Linked DNA regions of Homo sapiens: region 2 is linked to region 1. Evidence: promoter capture Hi-C in human tissues and cell types (Jung and others, 2019). All regions are on one chromosome and are shown on one strand. The core of a region is centred on a gene start or on the middle of the fragment in contact, and the rest is flanking DNA. Distances in the headings are between cores, read along the strand shown. Region 1 overlaps BECN1 (beclin 1). Region 2 holds the start of CCR10 (C-C motif chemokine receptor 10).

Region 1 (5,311 bases), core at 45-2,544:
GAGGCTGAAGTGGAGGATAACTTGAGCCCAGGAGTTTGAGGTTACAGTGTGCTGTGATCACACCTCTGCACTCCAGCTTGGGCAACAGAGTTGAGACCCTGTCTCAAAAAATAAAAACATTATAGATGTCCTTGACCTGAGAGAACCCTCTCTCTAGTGGAGGACACACAGTGTCCATACTAACTGAAGTTGTGGAAATGAAGGATAGAGAAAAGTCCATTTTTTTCACACAGTAGTATAACAAGTTTCACTGGAAGTGGGGTATAGTAACTATTTAAAGGACAGTAAGTGTATAGAAATGAAGCTTTAGAAGGCCAATTATGGCCAGTTCATGGAAGAAGCCACTGTTTTTTTGTTTTTTTTTTTTTTAGAAACAGAGTCTTACTCTGTCATCCAGGCTGGAGTGCAGTGGTGCAGTCATGACTCACTGCGGCCTTGACTTCCTACACCTAAGCAATCCTCCCGCCTCAGCCTCCCAAGTAGCTGGAACTACAGGCGCGCAACACCATACCTGGCTAATTTTTGTATTTTTTATAGAGATGGAGTTTCCCCATGTTGCCCAGGCTGGTCTTGAACTCTTGAGCTCAAGTGATCCACCTGCCTCAGCCTCCCAAAGTGCTGGGTTTACAGGCATAAGCCACCATGGCCAGCTGGAAAAAGCCACTGTTTTTTGTTTTTGATTTTGGTTTTTTTTTGAGACAGAGTCTCACTCTGTTGCCTAGGCTGGAGTGCAGTGGCATGATCTCAGTTGTCTGCAACCTCCACCTCCCAGGTTCAAGCGATTCTCCTACCTCAGCCTCCCAAGTAGCTGGGACTACAGGCGTGCGCCACCACGCCTGGCTAATTTTATTTTTTTAGTAGAGACGGAATTTCACCATGTTGGCCAGGCTGGCATCTAACTCCTGACCTCAGGTGATCTGCCCACCTCAGCCTCCCAAAGTGCTGGGATTACAGGTGTGAGCCACTGCACCCGGCCCAGAAGAAGCAGAAGCCACTCTTTTTTTTTTTTTTTTTTGAGACAGAGTCTCGGCTCTGTTGCCCAGTCTGGAGTACAGTGGTGTGATAGCTCACTGCAACCTCTGCCTCCTGGGTTGAAGCAATTCTGCCACTTCAGCCTCCCAAGTAGCTGGGACTACAGGTGTGCACCACCACGCCTGGCTAATTTTTGTATTTTTAGTAGAGACAGGGTTTCACCACATTGGCCGGACTGCTCTCGAACTCCTGACCTCAAGTTATCCACCCGTCTTGGCCTCCCAAAGTGCTGGGATTACAGGTGTGAGCCACCACGCCTGGCCCCAAGAAGCCACTCCTAACCCATTCACCTCACTTCTGAAAAAGATCAGAAATAAGAGGTTTTTTGCCCTGGTTTGGGAGAATTCTTTTTTCCTCCACCTTTTTGCATATGGGCAGCTGGAATTTGAGACATTTCTGTTCCTTCCAGGCAAAACAGCTAGGACATACATGTTCCTCAGAATGGGATCTATGCCAAATATAAAAGATGCGAGAGCTAGATGTAACGATGATCACTAAAGAATCGTTCATAGTGTGGTGAGAGAGAAACTTTAGCCCCCAAGCTAACAGCCTTCAATGGCCCCCTTGGCTGCTCACAGGTATCAGAGAGAATACAGTGAATTTAAACGACAGCAGCTGGAGCTGGATGATGAGCTGAAGAGTGTTGAAAACCAGATGCGTTATGCCCAGACGCAGCTGGATAAGCTGAAGAAAACCAACGTCTTTAATGCAACCTTCCACATCTGGTAATGAGAGCTAGGGGATGAGGAGCACTGCACATATCTAGACCTTAGCTGTTGACCACTAAGCCTGGGTGCCCACTTCCCACAAAAGAGGGACTGTAGGTTATCTTCACCCAACTAGGTTTCTTTCATTCATAGTGATGGGATAGGCACAGTAGGGATTGGAATTCTAGAGCTTGGTGACATCCGCCCTTCTAAAGAAAGGAAAAGGCCTGAGCCCTTCAGCCACTTAAAAACCTGGTAAGCTGTCTGGTGCTGATTTCTTATCCCCACGGTGTTTGATGTTCCATTAATTTAATAACTGTTGAGTGTCTACTCTGGAAAAGGCACTGTGCTGAGTGCTAGGAGGGCAACAGCAAAACAGTATGCAGTCAACCTTCTAGTTGCATATAATCTGGTGGAAGAGATGGATAAATAACAAGCAGTTGTAATGCAGTGTGATGATGGTAAACCCAGGGTGCTGTGGGAACACATAAGGGCACTTGATCCAGTTTGGGGAGGCCATATGGAGAGTTTCCCCATAGGGGACTTACGTTTAAACTGAGAGGTAAAGTAGAAGTCTGCAGAGAGGGGGTTGTTCCTAGCAGAGAGAACATTATGTGCAAAGAAATGGGAAAGAGGGAGTGGTGAATTCAGAGAACAGAAAGGAGCTTATTGTGACTGAAGATTGAGTGTAAAGGGGAGAGTGGCCGGATATGAAACTGGAGAGTTACCAGTTCCTGAAGGATCTCGTAGGCCTCGTTAAGAGGTTTGGACTTCATCCAAAAGGCAGAGGAGACACTGAAGCATTTTAGCTAGGGAAGTGACGTAATTACACTTGTATTCGTGAATGATGGCTTTTCCTGCACCATGGGGAATGACTTGGGGTAAAGGGGTGGAATCGTTGGAAAGGATACTCATCAGTAGGAATCTAAAGGAAAAGAATAGTAGCATTGAATTTGGAGAAAAGTGGAAAGATCCAAGATATTTAGCAGGTAGAATCAGGAGAGGTTGGCAGTTTTGCACGGAAGGAGCTGAGGGAGCATTCAAGGATACCACCCAGGTTTCTGCTTTGGCATCTGAGCAGCAGGGAAAAAGATGATGACTCAAGTTTTGGACATGTATTTAAAGTGCCAAGTACAGCTTGCATATATGGACTTGAAGATAGATTTAAGCTAGGTTTGGGGTGAGAGTGGGAAATGTCAAACTTTTTAAGTAATCCCTGTATTTCCCCCCACCTTTCTGCCTTCCTCTGTAGGCACAGTGGACAGTTTGGCACAATCAATAACTTCAGGCTGGGTCGCCTGCCCAGTGTTCCCGTGGAATGGAATGAGATTAATGCTGCTTGGGGCCAGACTGTGTTGCTGCTCCATGCTCTGGCCAATAAGATGGGTCTGAAATTTCAGAGGTAGGAAGTGTAGCCCTTTCTTGGGGAGTGATGTGCATTGATATAATTTGTATCTCCAACCTGGTACTGCTGTCCACCATGTCAGGAGCCCTTGCTGCCCACAGACTGGGAGTTTTCTGTGGCTGAAGAGCTGTCAGCATCTGATTTTCCCCTCATCACAGGGCTCTCTCCACTGATCACACAGTCACTGAGTTGCGTGACTATAGCATAGTTCCCAGCCTACAGTCCCCAGAGCCTTAGTGTTCCTCAGGATATTTTCAGTTTTTGTTTCTTAAATTTAAACCAAAACATAACATTTGTTCATGGAAGGCCCCCAGGCAATTATATAATAAATGTAGTTTGTTCATTAAACAAAATCTTTTAAACATGGATTCAATGGGGAGGTGGGAGAGGGAGTTGAGCATAATAAAAGAAGCCCTTGGCCAGAATGAAGAGTGAAATCATTGGGTTGTAACTTCCCAATAATCACTTTGGGAGGAGTCCTGTATCCATCTCTGTTTGTATCTCTATTTTAGATACCGACTTGTTCCTTACGGAAACCATTCATATCTGGAGTCTCTGACAGACAAATCTAAGGTACTCTGTGAAGCTCCATTTTCACTGGAATACAGAGTTCTTATATCTCTTAAGAAAATGGATGGTTTGCTTTGATATTGGCATTCAATTTATTTTTTAGACCTAGATATGAAGAGCCAGTATATTGTTCAATATCTTGTCTAGTTCAGGTTTAGTTTTGGGGGTCTTGTAGACAGAAATCAGGTTTTGACAGTCTGTTGAGAAGGGATATGGGCAGGTCAGAAGAGGGTGTGTGCACTAGGCTAGGAAAAGAATCACCGTGAGATAGATGTTTACAGGTTGAGTATCACCAGAAGTGTTTTAGATTTTGGATTTTTTTTTTCAGATTTTGGGATATTGGCATATAGATACTAAGATATCTTGGGAATGGGACCCAAGTCTAAACACAAAATTCATTTATGTTTCTTCTTCTGAGACAGAGTCTTGCTCTGTTGCCCAGACTGGAGTGCAGTGGCACGATCTCGGCTCACTGCAACCTCCGCCTCCCAGGTTCAAGTGAGTCTCCTGCCTCAGCCTCTGGAGTAGCTGGGATTACAGGTGCCCACCACCAGGCCCAGCTAATTTTTGTATTTTTAGTAGAGATGGGGTTTTACCATGTTGGACCAGGCTGGTCTCGAACTCCTGACCTCAGGTGATCCACCCGCCTCAGCCTCCCAAAGTTCTAGGATTACAGGCATGAGCCACCGTGCCTGGCCTGTTTTATATATACCTGATACATGTAGTCTGAGGTAATTTCATACAATATTTTAAATAATTTTGTGCATGAAACAAAGCTTGTATACATTGAATCATCAGAAAGCAAAGGGCCGGGTGCAGTGGCTCACGCCTGTAATCCCAGCACTTTGGGAGGCCAAGGCGGGTGGATCACAAGGTCAGGAGATTGAGACCATCCTGGCTAACACAGTGAAACCCCGTCTCTACTAAAAATACAAAAAAAAAAAAAAAATCAGCTGGGCGTGGTGGCAGGTGCCTGTGGTCCCAGCTACTCGGGAGGCAGTGGCAGGAGAATGGCGTGAACCTGGGAGGCAGAGCTTACAGTAAGCCGAGATTGCGCCACTGCACTCCAGCCTGGGCGACAAAGCAAGCCTCTGTCTCAAAAAAAAAAAAAAAAAAAAAAAAAAGCAAAGGTATCAGGTATGGAATTTTCCCCTTGTGGCATCATATCAATGGTCAAAAAGTTTCAGGTTTTGTAGCATTTTTTATTATTTTTATTTATTTATTTATTTTGAGACGGAGTCTCACTCTGTCACCCAGGCTGGAGTGCAGTGGCGTGATCTCGGCTCATTGCAGGCTCTGCCTCCCAGGTTCACGCAGTTCTCCTGCCTCAGCCTCCTCTCCTCCCGAGTAGCTGGGATTACAGGCGCCCACCACAATGCCTGGCTAATTTTTTGTATTTTTGGTAGTGACGGGGTTTCACCATGTTATCCATGATGGTCTTGATCTCCTGACCTCATGATCCACCCGCCTTGGCCTCCCAAAGTGCTGGGATTACAGACGTGAGCCACTGTGCCTGGCATATTTTTATTTTTTTTTCTTTTCTTTTTGTGGGTTTTTTTTTTTTTTGAAATGGAGTTTCGCTCTTGTTGCCCAGGCT
Region 2 (6,432 bases), core at 1,229-3,728, 130 kb after region 1:
ACCCCCTCCATTTTCCCAGAGGCTGGTGCCCGGCCCAGAGCCTGGAGCAGAGGAAGCTCCCCAAGTGTTACCGCCTTGGCGCCCAGAGTACCGAGTTGTGCCCTCGCTGGTAGAACGGTGTCCAGCTGTCCACTCGGTCGCCGTAGAGTAGCATGTAACGTGTGACCCAGTCCCAAGAATTAAAGGAGCCCTGTGTGGCCACGGCCCGGATCCGGTGCTTCTTCATTAAGTCTATCTGGAGCCAGGGATTCGGATCCCCAATCCGTGGTGACCACCCGCTTATGCCTATAGAAAGGACAGGAGCTTTAACCGGCTATCCCTCTCCCCGAAGTCCTCCGGAGGCCCCCACCCTTCCGCGGTGCGCTGCCAGTTGGCAGCTGATGTTCCGCGGAGCTCACCGTGCAGCCTGGCGAATCTCGGCGCAGTAAGGAGACTGTAGTAGGAGGAGGCGCCCAGGGAGCGTGCATACAGGGGACCCACCAGCTCCTCGTCGCAGCCGTCTAGGGTAGGGAAACCGACTGTTAGTCAGCGCTGGCCCCTCCCAGACCCTTCCAAAGGCCGGCCCACTTAGCGACCGAAGCTTCCCCTTCCGTGCCCCCAACCCCCGCCCCCAGAGGCACACCCAGCCCTACCTTAAAGCCATCTATTCAATCCTGGCTGCAGCAACAGCTGCATGCTCAGAGGAGGCTACCTTCTCCTTCTAGGCAAACCCCTAGGCTACACCTATAGGCCCAAGGCCAGACCCTCCCTAGCTAGCCCAATACCTGCCCTGGTTTAGTACTTTCCCAAACTCAATCCTAAACCTCAGCATCTTCCACAACCTAAGTCAACCCAAGACACCAATCCAGCTCCAACCCTAGCCTCAATCCAACTCGGCCCCCAAAACCTGCACCATCCCCAAATACAGGCCTTGCACCCAACCTCAGCCAGTGCTAGCACCATCACCAGCTCCATGTCCAGCCTTAGCATCAGTCAGGGGCACCAGCTCCTGCTTGGATCCCTGCCACAAAACCCAGCCCCAGCCACAAACCCCAGCCCTAGCCACAAACCCCACCCCTTGGCCAGCTCCAAAGTCCAGCCTTAAGCCCTGGCAAAACCTTAATCCTAGTATCGGTCACCAGTATACACTTATCCCCCAGCCCTAGCCTCAAACCCAGGCACCAGCTCCTGCTTGGATCCCAACCCCAAATCCCTGCCCGCTGACTTCATCCTCTTCCCAGAGCCCAGCCCCAGCCCCGGGCGCGCGCGGCAGCCTCAGAGCTGCAATGCGGAGCGCGGGGGAGAGGCAGGAAAAGATGAGAGCCAGCGGGCGCGCGCCGGCCGGGAAGGACCCGCGACCACCCAGCCGCAATGCGGTTCGGGGCCGCCCTGCAGGCTCTGGACTCCTGGGCCCAACCCCACCTGCCTCCAAGCCCAACACTCACAGTAGCCCCAGCCCTCGGCTCCTGAGACCGCGGCGAGCAGGATGCAGAAGAGCCGGAGATGCATCATGCAGGGCTGACGGTCCCGGCAGCCGCCTCCCTGTGAACGGCTCCGGCTAGGGCTCGAGTTCTGGCTTGGGCTCCAAGCTCTCCTCCTGGGGTTTGCAGCAGACCGCTCTCTCCTCCTTACCCACCCTTCCCTCCCTCTCTCCTTTCGCCCCCAAGCGCTCTGTCTCTCCTCTCTCTTTTCTCTCTCTCTCTCTCTGGTTCCTGGTCCTCCGCTCTTCTCTCTCTATCCTCTCCTTTCCACCCTCTTTCCTCTCACCTCCCCCCTTCCCCAGCCTCTGTCTCCTGGCACGCGCCGGTTTCCCGGACCCCGCGCAAGCGCGTGCCTCAGCCCTGCTGCGAAAGGGCGGGGGTAGAGAGCCTCTCGCCACCGGGAAAACCCCAAGTAACCCGAGGCTGCCCGGGACTAGGGCCACAGGAGTGAGGACAGGGAACCTAGGGCCAGAAGCATCCTGAAAATTTCAAGAAAAGGGAGGTGGTTTGGGGGAGGGGTGCCTGGAAATGGAATGAAGGGTAAGTAAAAGAATCTTAACATTTTCGGAAGGCAAATTATGCTCTAGGAGTGGTGCTGGGCACTGTGAATTTAGCATTTTTGCCCTACTCCACTTTGCAGATGAAAAACCTCAGGCTCAGAGAGGTCAAGAAACTTAGTCAATATCACACAGCAAATGATTATATTCCGAAGCCCGTTCTTTCTTCACTGACAAAGACAGTAAATTATTTTTTCTTTCTTTCGTTCATTCTTTTTTCTTTCTTTCCTTCCTTTTTTTCTTTCTTTCTTTCTTTCTTTCCTCTTTCCTTCCTTTCTTCTTCTTTTTTTTTTTTTCGTAAAATCCAGATCCTGCACAAGAGAGTGAAGTCTTTTGGAGGAGGTGGAATGGGAAAGTGACCCCGTAGACCCTAATCCCCACCTCCCTCTCGGCCCCTCTCCCCGCCTCTTCCTTCCTGTCCCGCTAGTAGTTTAACTTCTACCCCCTGTGGCTATACCTCAGAAACCTGTGTAGCCAGAGATGGGGACGGAGGCCACAGAGCAGGTGGGAGTGGGGGCAGGGAGGGGGAGAAGGGTTACAGAGAGGGAGGAGACAGGGAAGGAATGGGATTCCCCACCTGGCAATGGGCCTCTGCCATCCTATGGCTTATTCAGGATTCTTGGCGCTGTCTCAGACTAGGGGTCCTCCAGATAAATGGGCTGGTGGTGTGAGGCTGGGGTTGTGGGACAGGGACTAGGGCTGAGGGGAAAGGCGGGTTGAACCTAGAGGTCCAGGGTCCCACCTGGGCCCTGAAAACCTGAGTCCCAACCCTGGAGACCCCCTTGGCATGAGTGGTTCAGTGTGCTGGTATTGGAGGTACAGGGAAGGTGGGTATGGAAGGGAAAGAAGAGAAACAGAAACCCACTCCAGACGGAGGTTGGAGTCCAGGGCTCAGGTCTGAGGCAAAGCCTGCATATGGGCATCCTTCCAGGAGAGGGCGCTGCAAAGGGAACTGAAGCTGTAGGATTTATTAATAATACAAACTTTGGGCTGGGCGTGGTAGCTCAGGCCTGTAATCCCAGTACTTTGGGAGGCCAAGGTGGGCGGATCACCTGAGGTCAGGAGTTCGAGACCATCCTGGCCAACATGGTGAAACCCCATCTCTACTAAAAATACAAAAATTAGCTGGGCGTGGTGGTGGGCGCCTGTAGTCCCAGCTACTTGGGAGGCTGAGGCAGGAGAATCTCTTGAACCCGGAGGCGGAGGTTGCAGTGAGCCGAGATCGTGCCACTGCACTCCAGCCTGGGCGACAGAGCAAGACTCTGTCTCCAATAATAATAATAATAAATAATAATAATAATACAAACTTTGTATTATGGCCTTTGGAGAACACAGGTTCTCCCCATCCATTATTTTCCATATTGCCATCTTCACAGCAAACCTTGAGAGGTGGGCTGGTCAGGATTTATAATCTCAACATTACAGGTTAGGTAACTGAGGTCTAGAAAGAGCAAGTGGCTTGCTCAAGGTCACCCAGGAAGCTGGAAGCAGAGGTAGGAGGGGTGCAAGGGAAGCCAAGGCCTGCTGAAGGTGTGCTAGGAAGAGTCTGGAGAAGAGCTTATGTCTCCCCGTGTACTGTTACATCTGGCCACACAGGAGCTCTCAGCTTGGAAGGCAAGTGTGGGCGGGGGAGTTGTGTGGTCAGATGTGTCTCATAAGATCCCGCCTCTCATTTGACCCTCCCAGGTTTCCTGGGGCCATTACTCTGGGGATGAAGAGGACGCATACTCGGCTGAGCCACTGCCGGAGCTTTGCTACAAGGCCGATGTCCAGGCCTTCAGCCGGGCCTTCCAACCCAGTGTCTCCCTGACCGTGGCTGCGCTGGGTCTGGCCGGCAATGGCCTGGTCCTGGCCACCCACCTGGCAGCCCGACGCGCAGCGCGCTCGCCCACCTCTGCCCACCTGCTCCAGCTGGCCCTGGCCGACCTCTTGCTGGCCCTGACTCTGCCCTTCGCGGCAGCAGGGGCTCTTCAGGGCTGGAGTCTGGGAAGTGCCACCTGCCGCACCATCTCTGGCCTCTACTCGGCCTCCTTCCACGCCGGCTTCCTCTTCCTGGCCTGTATCAGCGCCGACCGCTACGTGGCCATCGCGCGAGCGCTCCCAGCCGGGCCGCGGCCCTCCACTCCCGGCCGCGCACACTTGGTCTCCGTCATCGTGTGGCTGCTGTCACTGCTCCTGGCGCTGCCTGCGCTGCTCTTCAGCCAGGATGGGCAGCGGGAAGGCCAACGACGCTGTCGCCTCATCTTCCCCGAGGGCCTCACGCAGACGGTGAAGGGGGCGAGCGCCGTGGCGCAGGTGGCCCTGGGCTTCGCGCTGCCGCTGGGCGTCATGGTAGCCTGCTACGCGCTTCTGGGCCGCACGCTGCTGGCCGCCAGGGGGCCCGAGCGCCGGCGTGCGCTGCGCGTCGTGGTGGCTCTGGTGGCGGCCTTCGTGGTGCTGCAGCTGCCCTACAGCCTCGCCCTGCTGCTGGATACTGCCGATCTACTGGCTGCGCGCGAGCGGAGCTGCCCTGCCAGCAAACGCAAGGATGTCGCACTGCTGGTGACCAGCGGCTTGGCCCTCGCCCGCTGTGGCCTCAATCCCGTTCTCTACGCCTTCCTGGGCCTGCGCTTCCGCCAGGACCTGCGGAGGCTGCTACGGGGTGGGAGCTGCCCCTCAGGGCCTCAACCCCGCCGCGGCTGCCCCCGCCGGCCCCGCCTTTCTTCCTGCTCAGCTCCCACGGAGACCCACAGTCTCTCCTGGGACAACTAGGGCTGCGAATCTAGAGGAGGGGGCAGGCTGAGGGTCGTGGGAAAGGGGAGTAGGTGGGGGAACACTGAGAAAGAGGCAGGGACCTAAAGGGACTACCTCTGTGCCTTGCCACATTAAATTGATAACATGGAAATGAGATGCAACCCAACAACTGTTACTATTTTTGAGTCACCGACTTGGAAGTGATTTGTGGCGGGGCAGAACCGGTGGGTTAACACCCCGCCCCCGCCCCACCCCCCGCCCTGCCCCGCGCTTGGCTCTCTGAGTGGAAGACGCTGAGGGCCTGGGTGGGGGTGGGGGGCTGCTGAGTCTGCTAAAGCTCTAGCCACTGACACCCCCTCCACCGTCACCTGGCCTCAGCCAACAGAGGTGAGGTGGGAAAGCTGCCAGGCAAGGAGGGGCGGTGGTTCCTCTTGCAATACTGTAAGGAAGAGCTTTCTAACAACCAGAGCGCTCTCCAGTAATGGCTGCCTTAGCAAATACTGAGTTCCCGCTATTGGAATGTTCAGACTGTCGGGGACGCTGTGGGCCTTTGCGTGGTGTGGGGGGAGGGGGAGGGGCAGGGGATTCCCGTTTTTGGTGGGCGTTTGGATTTCATAACCACTTTACAATCCCTTCCTAGTGTCTGTGATGGAAAGAAAAAATGAAAAAATGAATTGTAAAATTTGAGTTGAAGTTTTTCCACCTTGAAGAAAAACCTAGGAGGGATTGCAATCTGCAAATTTCCAGAGTAGTTATCACGGGTGTGGTGGGGGTGAGGGATATTTGCTGTTCTCCATCTTCTCTGGGGACTGGGTCAGAGGAAATGCACTGAGCTGGCCGGAAAGAGAGAGGTTGGATATGGGAAAAAACTTCTCTGCAGGCAAGGGCCTGGGATCCAGACCTGGAAGATGGTTGTGGTATCTCCATTCCTAGGTAATCTCTCAGTACAGGCCACTCTCATGTGGAGAGAGGCCACGGCCGAGATGGCCTCCTAGACACGCTCGCATTGATTCCTGGTCTTTGTTTTACACAATCACAACGGGCAGGATGGTGTTCACGTGCGACAGTTCTCGCGGTTTAATATCGGTCAGCAAAGCTGTCCCCACCGCTCCAGCCTGGAGTCTAGGGTCGAGAAGGGCGGGGCGTGGCGAGGAGGTCTCAAGGGAGGTGCTGGCCTGACGGCCCCGCCCGTCCCGCCCTTCCCCGCCCCTCCCCGCCCAGCCCAGCCCTGCCCAGGCTAGCAGTCCTCAGAGCCTCCCGCAGCAGCGGCGAAAAGGGGTCCCCCACGGCCTCTAGGGGCCAGGATCCAGGGAAGGCCCGGAGACGGCGCCGATCCTCAAAGGGTCCCACACGCCAGCCACTGGGGACCGACCTGGAACCCTCCATCCAAGATCTCTGGAATCGCCGCTGAGTCAGCAACGCGCGCGCGCGCCCGCGGAGGCCGCGGCCCCGCCCCGGCCGCCTAGCGCCTGAGTTAACCCCTTCCTATACAGAGCCGCAGGATATTAGCCCTAAGAGGCCTCCACTGTATTCGGAGACCACAGAATTCCTTAGAATCCAAGTCAGTCTCCCCAGCTGAGTTCGGTGAGCTGTGAGCTCTATATTCGATTTTATTTCCGGCCTAGGTCTGCACCTTCCCAGAGTGCCTGCCTCAACTCCTTCACCTCGAAAAGGAGGTGAGG

Evidence for each region. Contacts are between HindIII fragments. The study calls those that stand out against the background at their distance.
Region 2: the fragment with the promoter of CCR10 here is called in contact with a fragment that was not itself captured in region 1 in 4 of the 25 tissues and cell types used here (dorsolateral prefrontal cortex, lymphoblastoid cells, mesendoderm cells and 1 more).

The regions. Positions count from the first base shown.
Region 1 is chr17:42,812,354-42,817,664 of GRCh38, reverse strand. It overlaps BECN1 (beclin 1), which reads left to right. Exons shown (of 12, transcript NM_001313998.2): 8 at 1,611-1,757; 9 at 2,992-3,141; 10 at 3,657-3,717. Among named protein-coding and RNA genes, the nearest start is that of MIR6781, 8.9 kb to the left of the region's middle. The HindIII fragment of the contact is 7,607 bases long and covers 1-5,097 here.
Region 2 is chr17:42,677,889-42,684,320 of GRCh38, reverse strand. CCR10 (C-C motif chemokine receptor 10) reads left to right here and starts at 2,478. Exons shown (of 2, transcript NM_016602.3): 1 at 2,478-2,521; 2 at 3,704-5,432. The coding sequence starts at 2,498. The coding sequence ends at 4,768. It overlaps CNTNAP1 (contactin associated protein 1), which reads right to left and starts at 1,790. Exons shown (of 24, transcript NM_003632.3): 1 at 1,425-1,790; 2 at 399-500; 3 at 92-285. The coding sequence starts at 1,491. RefSeq lists silencers at 256-550, 2,796-3,090, 5,767-5,856, 6,207-6,286 and enhancers at 1,336-1,385, 1,646-1,695, 1,639-2,257, 3,476-4,324, 4,325-5,173 and 2 more. The HindIII fragment of the contact is 6,302 bases long and covers 1-4,770 here.